Linked DNA regions of Homo sapiens: regions 2, 3 and 4 are each linked to region 1. Evidence: promoter capture Hi-C in 16 types of primary human blood cells and fetal thymus (Javierre and others, 2016). All regions are on one chromosome and are shown on one strand. Each heading gives the region's core, a stretch centred on a gene start or on the middle of the fragment in contact. The rest is flanking DNA. Distances are from core to core; before and after follow the strand shown. Region 1 holds the start of LRRCC1 (leucine rich repeat and coiled-coil centrosomal protein 1). Region 2 overlaps RALYL (RALY RNA binding protein like). Region 3 overlaps RALYL (RALY RNA binding protein like). Region 4 overlaps RALYL (RALY RNA binding protein like).

Region 1 (2,700 bases), core at 175-2,674:
GCATTTCCCACTTATCCTGCTGTGTCATTTACTTGAGTTCTTATTTAGTGCCAGACCTTATGCTGTTAACACATGCTCTTAATGACAGTCATTTACTTTCTGACACATTTCAGTTTCTCGACATTAATAATGTGCAGATAATGTGAGATAGAAAAAGCATAGTGAAATTAGACGGAAAATGGGTTTGAATCCGAACTTAATTCTTCATGAAGTGTATAAAGATGAACAAATTGTCAATAGATTCTGAGTCTCATTCATCACTTGTAAATGAGAAAAATTACTACCTTGTAGAATTGCTGTGAGGATTACTGATAATGTATATAACATGCACACAACAGATAGCATTCAGTAAATGGCAGCTAGTATTAAATAGAAATGTAAAATGTCCCTTGAACAGCATCTTCTTGGGATCATCTGGCAAAGTTTAAATCAGAATCCAGAACAAGATGCTTAATTATCAGTAGCAGAGTTCGCGTAGAGGACACGCTACAAAGGAACAGCATGTGCAAAGGCACAGAGAAGTCTGCTATGGAATTGCCTGTAGCTCAGTACAGGTAAATAAAGTGTAAGTGGAGAAATGTTACGGGTCGAGACTAAAGAGCCTGAAATGCAGGTGGAGACCTGCTTTACAGTATTACAGAACCAAGTGCCTCATATGCTTTGCACAAGTCAGGGCTTCAAGAGAGAGGGAAACGATGAACTAAATATAGTAAGTTTAGTACTTTCAAAAAGTATATGAATATATGTATTGCAATGTTCTGTAACGGACAAATGATTTCGAATGCAGACAAGGAGAACTGAGGCAAAACTAACAGGCAGCAGCGACTGCCCGCTCATAGCTGCCAGAGATACTATCCTGCAGGTTTTTTTCAGAGGTAAGAACAGGAAAGACGAGAGAACACGAGAAAACCAGCAATTAAACGGCAAGCAAAGGAATAACCACCAGTAAGTAAGGAAAACCAGCAGAAGGAAAGAGTGGTCAGAAGCTGGTGGAGGACAAGGTCCTGGGGCAGTTTCTAGGCTAAGCAGAGTCGTGTGAAACGCTGGGCAGGAGACACGGGCGGGAAGGCATCCACGGCTCATTCAACCTGGCACTTCGGCAGGTAAGTTTTGGAGGAGCGGGGAGGCCGAAAGCCAGACTGCGTTCACTTATGGTCTTGGTAAAGCAGTGCCGCGCCTCCACTCTGGTGTCGCCGCCAGCCACTCGTGGCCCCGGCTCTGGGGAGTGCGCGGGTCGCTCCTGGCTGCGGAGCGCCCTTTACCTCTGCAAGCCTTTGTCCATGAAGCATACATCCCCGCAGCTGCTGTCGCCGTCTTCGTTTTCCACTTCCGCCTCTGCCGCCACCACCGCCGCCGCCGCCTCCATAGCACTGGCGACGGGGAGCGGGGTCTTAACCGGCACCCAGCGAGGGGTCCGTGAGCTTGGGACAAGCCTCCCGGAAGCGCGGAAGGGCGGCCCGAGGGGGCGGGGCGGGGCGAGGACCCACCCTCCAACCGACAGCCGGGAACTTTCCCGCCTTGACGGTGACGCAAAACTGGAATCCTCGTCCCAACTGTGGGCTTCTTTCGTTTTTACAGCATCTGCGGTGCGACTCTTGAACTTGCTGTAAAGTAAAACTGCTTCCCGGGCGTGTAGGAGCTGGAGAATGAATGGATTTGTCCTGTGTGCTTCTGTATATTTGCCTAGTAGCCGACTGACTTCTGAAGGCGGTTTTCACAGCGGTTTGGCTTTACGTGCCTTTACATAGCCTTACATACGTATAAATTGTTCCTCTGGCCATTGCACCTCCTGTTGATTCATTGAACAATTTGTGGGATGCCTTACTGTATGTCAGTCACTTCCCTGTATGAGGAAGAAAAAGATGAAGCCTATTCTTGTTCCTGGAAACATTCGCAGCCCCATAGAGGAAACAGAATTGCCATACAGTATGACGAATGCTAAGAATAACACAAGGGCATCGAAACCAACTCTAGAGTGATATGGGTAGTGGGTACGTTTTCTAAAAGAAGTGATTGATGACTGAATAGAGTCTTGCTGGGTTAGGGGGAGTTCTGGATGAATGGCATTACAGGTGGGAAAGCAATACCTGTGTGAGGTCAAATAACCCTCCTGGCTAGATTGCTTCCTAAGGCATAGTAATATTTTAAAACGGAGCAAATGGTGCAGTAGTCCATTTGAAGTGGACTATTTCCTTTTGAAATAACTCATATAGACAAAAATAAAAAAGATGTTTTAAAAAATGAGCAAAACCCACATGACATGTAGGACACCATAAAGTGACCAAATATTCAAAATTTTGGAGTCTCAGAAGGCAAAGAGAAAACAATAGAGTTGGAAAAATGGTTCAACAAAATACTATATGAAAACTTCCCAAGTCTAGCAAGAGATTTAGACACCCAGGCACAGGAGGCCAAAGGTTCCCAAACAGATACAATGCAAAAAGGTTTTCTTTTAAAAAAAATTTCATCTCACTTTTTATTTTAGATTCGGGGGTACATGTGCAGGTTTGTTACATAAGTATATTGCACGATGCTGAGGTTGTGGCTTCTAATGATCCTGTAACCCAAATAGTAAATATAGCGCTTGATAGGTAGTTATTCAACTCTTGCCTTCCCCCTTTTGGAGTCCCCAGTGTCTATTGTTCCCATCTTTGTGTTCATGTGTATCCAGTGTTTAGCTGCCACTTGGAAGTGAGAACA
Region 2 (2,700 bases), core at 183-2,682, 470 kb after region 1:
AAAGAGGAAAATGTAATACAAGTCAGAAAGTCCAAGCATGTCATAAATGGTCTATGTAAGCTGTGACAAGGTTCATGAAAGAAAAATTATAAAAGAAGTTTTGTATATAATTCAGTTGACTATAATTAGAAGGGAACTAGTTATAATGGTCTTTATAAGATTGGTCCCCTGTGTTATAATGAGATTTTCTTAAGATATTAATTGGCTCTTAATAAAATTCAGATTTTGATTTTTAATTTTATATCCTGTTTTGAAAACTTCTCAGAATCATACCTCAGAAGTTCAGCTTCTGTGGTGTCACACTGTTTTTAGCTTTTTCTCTCCTTGAGAAAGCTTGAGGTGACTCTTTCCTTCAGCTTTTTCATCAGCTTCTGTAAGTTTTTTCCTCCAGTTGTAACTATTGTTGTGGCCTGATGTGAAAACATTTTATCTCGAGGGTCTAGAAAAGCAATGTTTTCCTCCAGTATAACCTGATTTTGTCATCTTGGCTTTTCTTGATATGTCTAAATTTTTGAATGTAATCAGAAAACTTCTTATGCAGTTACTAAGAATTATATATTCCCCTGCTATACTCATAATCTTAACACAATCTTCTGATGTCTGATTAAATTCAAGTACTTTTTCATCAGATTTAATTTTCAGGTTATGTAAATGGGCTTCCCATAAGAAGCAGTCACATTGCAGGTTTTTCTTTGCCTTTCTGATAACTCGCTTAAGAGACAACATTTTAGGTTTTATCAAAATAATTCCTATACTCTTTATTAGGTTTTTAATTCCTTAAAAAACTGATATTTAAAAGAATTAATGTTTTACATCTATGTAACCTCCTGTATTGCCTTTAAAGTCTTTTGATTATTACTTGGGTTAAATGAGTAACTATTGTTTTACAATGACCTATGTTTCTGTTGCAATAATATATTTTGAGCCTTTTAACATCTTTGACAAACATCTTGAAGATCAAATCCTAAATTAAGTCTCTCATTTATAGCTGGGGCTTATCAAAGCTATACAAATTTATTCAGACCCTCCAAGTCAGGGATGGGCACACAGATGCCTAAACAGCTGAACAAACTATTTGTGTTTTGGACAGCTAATTTCTACAAGCCAAGATCACATCACAGTAGCTAAATGCACAGAATTTATAGATAAGTCCACTTTATGACCTTATTTTTTGGCTTCTGGATTTTGCCTATTATATTGATTAAAAGGGTTTTAAGGATTAATGAGTGCCTTCCCACCTTCATGCCTGTCTTGCTTAGAGCATTTAATTGGCTTTAATTCTTTTGACTCTAAGGTCCTTGGCCATAAGGATTCCACCAAGGTGTATGATGGACCAGGGGCAGGTATCACACCACCTCAGCATTGATATGGGACAAAATAGAAGGTTGGCCATCAGCACTGCCTCTGGTATACTTTGACAAAAAAGGGAGAATATAAACAAAAAATAAATTAATTCTAAGTCCCCCAGCAGACTGAATGGACCCCTTATCTTGGCTAAAGGAAATCCCAAAGAAACCTAAAAAACCAGTTCAGGCCATGACAGCAAGAAAAGAGTCAGACAAGTTTCACTATACCTTTCCTCACTTTTTTTGATTTAGACACAACTGATCAGCATTAACATTAAAATGGAGATCATAAGGTTGACAGAAAAGGCTTGTTGTAACAAAACACAAAATTATAAACAGGACCTAAGACCATGCCAGGCAGGGGTAAGTCACAGGCTCCTACACTTAAAGAATAAACTATGTTCTAACTGCCATATGGTTTTTCTTTTTCTCTATGTTCTAACTGCCATATGTTTTTTCTTTTTCTCTAGCAGTCAATAAGTTAACTGCCCCACAGCCCCTTATTGCACAAGCAACTGTAGCTTTAATTAAATAAAATATTAATTCCAGTAAGTTTCTCCCGAGAAAAGACCACCAACCATGGACTAGTTCTGCCCAGTTTACAGAAAGTGCACATTTGCATGCCTTTATATCCTAAAAAGACCTTTTGACTCATGAGGCCTAATATAATACATTAAATATTGAGTCTCCATCCCATCTGTGTGTGTGTGTGTGTGTGTGTGTGTGTGTGTGTGTCTGTGTGTGTGTGTGTACATATATATGGGTTATATTGTGAGAGAATATATATATATATATATATATATATATATATATATATATATATATATATTTATGCGTGCATTAGATACTCGTATTTCTGTTATAGATGTCTTTTCTCAGGACTCCATAACAACATAGTTTAGTTAACTTCTTAATACAGATAAGACTCTCATATACAATATAACTGGTATTCTGCTCATTGTTTAACTTGGTTGCTAAGGATTTTATTGCCACTGTACACTGCATAGGGTTGAGGACAGACTTTCTCAGAACCTTTTAGTTCCCTACACCATAATGCTCCAGCAAATTTCTGCTATTAATCTCCTACTTTGTTTCTAATTGAGTTTATTTGGCTTTCTCTTTTTTCTTGGTTAATCTTGTTAATGGTCTATCAATTTTATTTATTTATTTCAAAGAACAAGCTTTTTGTTTCATTTATCTTTTGCATTTTTTATTGTTTCAATTTCATTTGGTTCTTCTCTGATCTTGGTTATTTCTTTTCTTCCACTGGGTTTGGGTTTGGTTTATTCTTCTTTCTCTAGTTCTTTCAGGTGTGAGCTTAGATTGTCCATTTGTGCTCTTTCAGACTTTGATG
Region 3 (2,700 bases), core at 17-2,516, 480 kb after region 1:
AACTTTGACTTTAGCCCAGTAAAACCCACGTTAGGCTTCTGACTTACAGAATTGTATGATAATGCACTTGGGTTGTTTCTAGCAGCTCAGTTGTGGTAATTTGTTAGAGCTGCAGTAGAGAACTAGTACAGTAAGAAAAGGTTTTCTAAAAATTAGTGATGTCTAAACACAGAAAGGGCTGTCCTTGAAAAACTAAGCTGCTCATTGCTGGATGGCCATGTTCAAAATATCTGAGCACTATTCATCTGATTCCTGGACAGAGAGGGATGTTGAATATGATGATCTCTAAAGACTAACAATAACCCAAAGTGAAAACTTCAACTCTTTTCTGTCAAGACTTGTTTATTCAAGTGATTATTTCACACAGACAATAGTACCAGTCGAAAGAGAAGTATCTCATCTCCCACTATCAGACCTACCAACCTCATGTACCTAGGATGGTCAGACTTTCCACGTTCATGATGGGGCCATTGGTCCCTTCCTGTTGAAACAAATCCTTCTGCTTAGGCTTGGATTCCATGCTCTTTGATTTGCTCAAGGATATTTTAAATTTTTTTTCCTCTCACTCTTTTTTTCCCACAGCATATTTGTGATAGTCCTCATCATGTGAAAGGGTAACTATTTGTACCAACATCCCTCCTCACCATCAACTCCCACATGATTTTCCTGCTCCTATTTAGAGAAAAACTTCTTCGAATTGCTGTTTGTATTCTTTCATTTCATGTTCTCATCTCATACTCTCCCCTTAATGCACCCCAATTGACAACTTCCTCTCCCTACCTCTCTAAAATAATTATTCTCAAGGTCAGCAATCATCTCAATATTAAGAGTATGTAAATTTAATTCTACTTACTGTTGGTAACTTACAGGACAGTAGGATGACCTAAGGGGTAAAATATTTTTTGGACCACTACTTTGGAGATTTATTAATTTCATAAACACAATTATTTTCAACACTATCCTTCTATACATATCAAGATATGCCCTTTGAAGTGAAAATGGGTAGTGATTATTTTATGCGGTGAACTGGATCAAAATAAACTTTCATGCTTTTAGACTGATGTATCTAAAATTAATGTGTCACGATAACATGACACATTAATTCTTTACCTATGAAAAACTTGTGCCCACTGAACATTTAAACAATACAATAAAACAACAAATCTAACAGCATGTCCCAGCTGACAAGTGGAACTGAGCTAATCTTTGAAAATGGAATAAAACTTAGAAGTTTTACTGTCACATTCAGGGACACATTTAATTTGTTAGAACTTAGCATTGAGAATTGTGTCTATTATAATCAGAACTGGCTTTCAGTCACAAGGATCTTGAATTTTAAGCAGTATGGTGTGCACAATGCCTTAAGAGATAGTCACTGAAAATGTTACATGACTATCTCAAAAAGGTGCAGTCTTTAATTTGTCACAACCAAACTTCACATCCTCTAATAATAAATACATTTACTATTTTTTTCCACGTAGATAACAACGACTTGGTGTGTACTCGTCAATTCTTACATCTTGAGACACAGATATGTCTATTTTTCAAATTAAACAGTATTGTTGTTTCCTTTATTTCCCATTATTTTCTACATGGGCTTTCCATAATCCACAGGACTTTATGATGGCAGAGTCCTTACCTCATTGATGCCAGCAGACTTCAATCTCTTCCATATGACAGCAAGGAAACTAAATAGAAATTGGTCTTATGGCCTCTGAGAGAGACTTCCCTGGAATAATTATATGTACTAATGCCCCTCGACTCTGTGGAGCGTTGTCCTGATCCCTGGACACACTAACCCTGAGGACATCCCTCTTTTCCCCACATTTGTTGCTGCTGTTTTTCTAGGAAATGATGCCACTCTCTGTAAAATCTGCTCAAAATTTAGTGGCTCAGATAAGATTCCAAAATTTTTAAATACTTAGAACATAGCCTGGCCTAGTAAACGATGCTCATATCTGAGGCTGAATTCTGAGCTCAAAGAAAATCACAGTGTAGATTTCTTTAACATTACCAATAAAGCAAACACTTTTATATTCTTCCTAGAATAAATTTTAACAAGCCCTTCATGCTGAAATATACTTTGGGATGAGACTTTCTCTTAACTCTCTACCAGGTTATTACCACGTATGACCCCTTTTTCTTTGTGGCATCAAACTCATCTTTCCTCTCATTCATGCAGTGTTAAAGCTCAAATTTTCATTCACTACTATGTTTGTCTTGAATTGTTTCCTTCTCAATTCTATAACTGATACAGTAGCAACTCATTGTGACTTCTGGTTAATTCCATGCATTTAAAGTTTTAACTGAAACATTTAAGTTAAATTATTGGTAATATTCATTATGCAGATGTAACTTCATAATTAATAATTATGCAGATGTCACCTTGTAATTAGCAAATGTTATAAAAGCCTTACCAAAAAGTCATAGTAAATTGGTTTCATAGAAAAAGAGCTTGAAAATAATGGCTAAATTAGCACTGCAAAGGACTAGAAATCCACATAGGCTAGAGTTGACATTATACATATTCATAAGAATCATGCCCTTGAGAATCTGTCTGAATTTAGAACTCATCTCTTACAATCTATTCTCTCTTTAAATCCTACAAGGCTACAGCTAACCTAAGTCTACATTAGGATAGGAAACCTTGAAGTAAATTAGAAAAAGCCTTTTAAGCAGAGAAATTGTTTTTATGAAGTT
Region 4 (2,756 bases), core at 108-2,607, 450 kb after region 1:
GTAGTAGAATAAATTGAGAAAATTGTAAAGTGCCATGCCTATATCACTTCAAATGTAACCACCTACCAAATATTCGTGGAATAGATACTTCTACTATTCTTCAAAGTGTTATTCTATTATTCTCTCCCTATTGGTAATCATTGTAAATCAGAATAATATACTTAAACCTCTATTTCTTGTCCTATTCATATAGACAGTATTTACTGATTTCTAACTTTATCTTTTAATGATATTAGTAATCCTACTCTTTTTCACTCCTTTTCATCTTCAACTTCAAAATATCGGTTATCTATAATTTTAAATTTTGATTAATATGGGGATCATATGCATTCATTTATAGCCTTGTAGTCACAAATCTTCCAAATTTCAACAGGTTGAATATAAATGGCAAAAGCAATACATGATATTTATATTATTGTGACTAGGTAAAGCCACATGATCATATTTCCTTTCTAGCAGTTTGCCCTGAGCCTCCACCTACTCCTAGTCCACTATCACATATTTTATAGCCTTTCTTTTATTTTCTTGTATTTGCTGCATCTTTGTCAAGTTCTTCTGATATCTTAAGCTTATTATTAAACTGCTTAGGTCCCCTTTAAGGAAGAGCGGGCCTCAGCAGCTTTTAGTGCTGCAACAAGCTACCTTTCTTTATCAAACAGCCTTTTCTGATTGCCTTCCATTGACCAAAGGCTCACTCTTCAGGGGTGGCCCTCATCTGATGTCTGATCCAGGGAGGGGTACAATGGCTCTCTCACATTTGGCCTAATGGGGAACACCGCAGCCAGACCCTATCAACTCCAGAACTTCCTCTGGGTCAGCTTAAGCTGTTGATCAACAGCTTAAGGTGTTGATGCCACATCACAGTTCCACTTCTCTCTCTGCCTGATGCTGCTTCCCCACACCCCTTTTTAAAAGGTGTTGATCTCTACACAGTTTCTAATAAACATTCTACAATCTTATTTCCATCTCAGTGTCTGTTTCCTGGAGAATCCACTCTGCAACAATGCTGTTTTAGTCTAACTAGCTCCTTGGTCAGTAACCTGGAAATATGCCATTAAACATTATGCCTATACAGCCTGAAACCACTAGCACTGAAGAAAAATCTATCCCACTTGTAGTAAGCTGTCTTCCCTGGAAACAAGTCAGAGTCAACTTAGCAATGCTCCTTTCAGTTTTTTGTTTTGTTTTGTTTTGTTTTCTATTAGAGAGCCCTTGTGTTTTCACGGCAGCCATATCCAGCCGCAAACTGAGACAAAAGGCAAAAGGAGAATTTGGCTTAATATGAGACTGAGATGTAGTTCCCTCCTTTTTCCCTACCCCAATTCCTCTTTCAATACGTCCCCTCTTCTCTCAACACCATATATGACAAATTCTAGCCACAGAGTATCAACATGGGTTTTTCTTTTACTTCACTTTTCCTTATTTATATCTTTTTATAAGTGTAAGCTCATATACGAAGAGGCTTCATCTCCAAGCAGAGAGACCATCAGCTCTGGATTGTCAGTTTTCCACTCAGGCTATCTGTCTATCCATCATCTTACACAAACTGTTGGAACCGTGTTCTATGGGATCACTAGTACTGATGACTCAGTTGTTCCTCAGCACACTTACTGCTGTTTCTAAAACTACAGAGTTTATCCACAATTTCCTATGCATACACCTTTCTAATTTTAAGAGGGAGATACAATTCATAAATTTAAAAAGATGTATCAACTGAAGAATGATAAATTTCATAAATTTGGAAAGGAGAGCTTTACTTTTCATAAAGGTTGCAGCCTGCAGCGTAGCCATTCTGAGAGGCCAGGAAGTGTAACCTCCATCCAGAAGCCAGAAACACACTTTTTGAGGGTCAGAAGAATATGACAGGGATTTATGTTGAATAGACTGGCCAAATACACATATTCAATAAACTATAGGAAGAGTCATGAATATTTATAAGTAGAGAAATGTGGGCATGTGCAGTTGAGTTTCATGTCTCTCTATGGGACCCATGTTCCAAAAATGGGTTAGCATAATTCGAGGATACAGTTTTCAGCCCTGTGGTGTCAAAAGGTGAAGCAAGGGACATGAAAACTTTCATTGCACATGGGAGATGGTGTCCAACCTCCCATCCTGTTATTGCTGGGAACTCAACTTCCAAGCTTTCCCTGAGATCCCCTTGACCAAGACAGAATCCATTCAGTCAGTTGGCAGGCTTAGGATTTCATTTTTGTTTCTCATAGGTGTACTTAACAAAGTAAAAGGACAGCAATCTATATCAAACGGTGAACTATCTCCTGAAATCCTCCCTCCTCCAGCCCACTGATTGACTTGGTGGAATCTACTCCAATCAGGACTGACAGCTCTGTAGCCCTGTTGCAACATCTCATCTAGAGCTAGGTCCACAGTTTCCTGGATCTCCCATCTTCTTTCTTGATTTATCCCCCCAGTTTTAGAGAAGACTTCCTCAAGTGGCCTCTTTGCACTTCTATTAGAGTGTTCTTTCTCTGATTTGTTTTTTCACTCGACTTTCTTCCACCAAAGTTTTATCTTGTAGAAATCTACTGAAGGTATTCATCTGCAGATGGATGCTTTCCTATTCTCTTTGAACTTGGTAACGTATATCTAGAAAGCCCCTTTACTAATGCACTGTTTGAGGAGAAAGGTATGCACATGAGTGCTTTCTGTCAGCCCCAACAAGAAATATTCTAAAAAACCATAACCAGTTTCGGTTGAGAGTAAGACTTGGATTCTGGGAAGGAAGAGAAGCTTTCTTT

What was found. Contacts are between HindIII fragments. The CHiCAGO score rates a contact against its expected background, and 5 or more counts as called.
Region 2: a fragment that was not itself captured here is called in contact with the fragment with the promoter of LRRCC1 in region 1 in 1 of 17 cell types (M1 macrophages); the score reaches 5.5 in M1 macrophages.
Region 3: a fragment that was not itself captured here is called in contact with the fragment with the promoter of LRRCC1 in region 1 in 1 of 17 cell types (M0 macrophages); the score reaches 5.5 in M0 macrophages.
Region 4: a contact is called between a fragment that was not itself captured here and the fragment with the promoter of LRRCC1 in region 1, in 1 of 17 cell types (M0 macrophages). The highest score is 5.2, in M0 macrophages.

What each region holds. Positions count from the first base shown.
Region 1 is chr8:85,105,962-85,108,661 of GRCh38, reverse strand. It overlaps LRRCC1 (leucine rich repeat and coiled-coil centrosomal protein 1), which reads right to left and starts at 1,424. Exons shown (of 19, transcript NM_033402.5): 1 at 1,263-1,424. The coding sequence starts at 1,366. LOC105375933 (a long non-coding RNA gene) reads left to right here and starts at 800. Exons shown (of 3, transcript XR_929117.3): 1 at 800-1,103. RefSeq lists an enhancer at 1,253-1,312. The HindIII fragment of the contact is 5,185 bases long and covers 1-2,700 here.
Region 2 is chr8:84,638,347-84,641,046 of GRCh38, reverse strand. The region is part of intron 2 of RALYL (RALY RNA binding protein like); the gene reads right to left. Among named protein-coding and RNA genes, the nearest start is that of RALYL, 460 kb to the right of the region's middle. The HindIII fragment of the contact is 2,194 bases long and covers 336-2,529 here.
Region 3 is chr8:84,621,651-84,624,350 of GRCh38, reverse strand. All of the region lies in intron 2 of RALYL (RALY RNA binding protein like), which reads right to left. Among named protein-coding and RNA genes, the nearest start is that of RALYL, 440 kb to the right of the region's middle. The HindIII fragment of the contact is 6,465 bases long and covers 1-2,700 here.
Region 4 is chr8:84,657,379-84,660,134 of GRCh38, reverse strand. The region is part of intron 2 of RALYL (RALY RNA binding protein like); the gene reads right to left. Among named protein-coding and RNA genes, the nearest start is that of LRRCC1, 450 kb to the left of the region's middle. The HindIII fragment of the contact is 1,573 bases long and covers 571-2,143 here.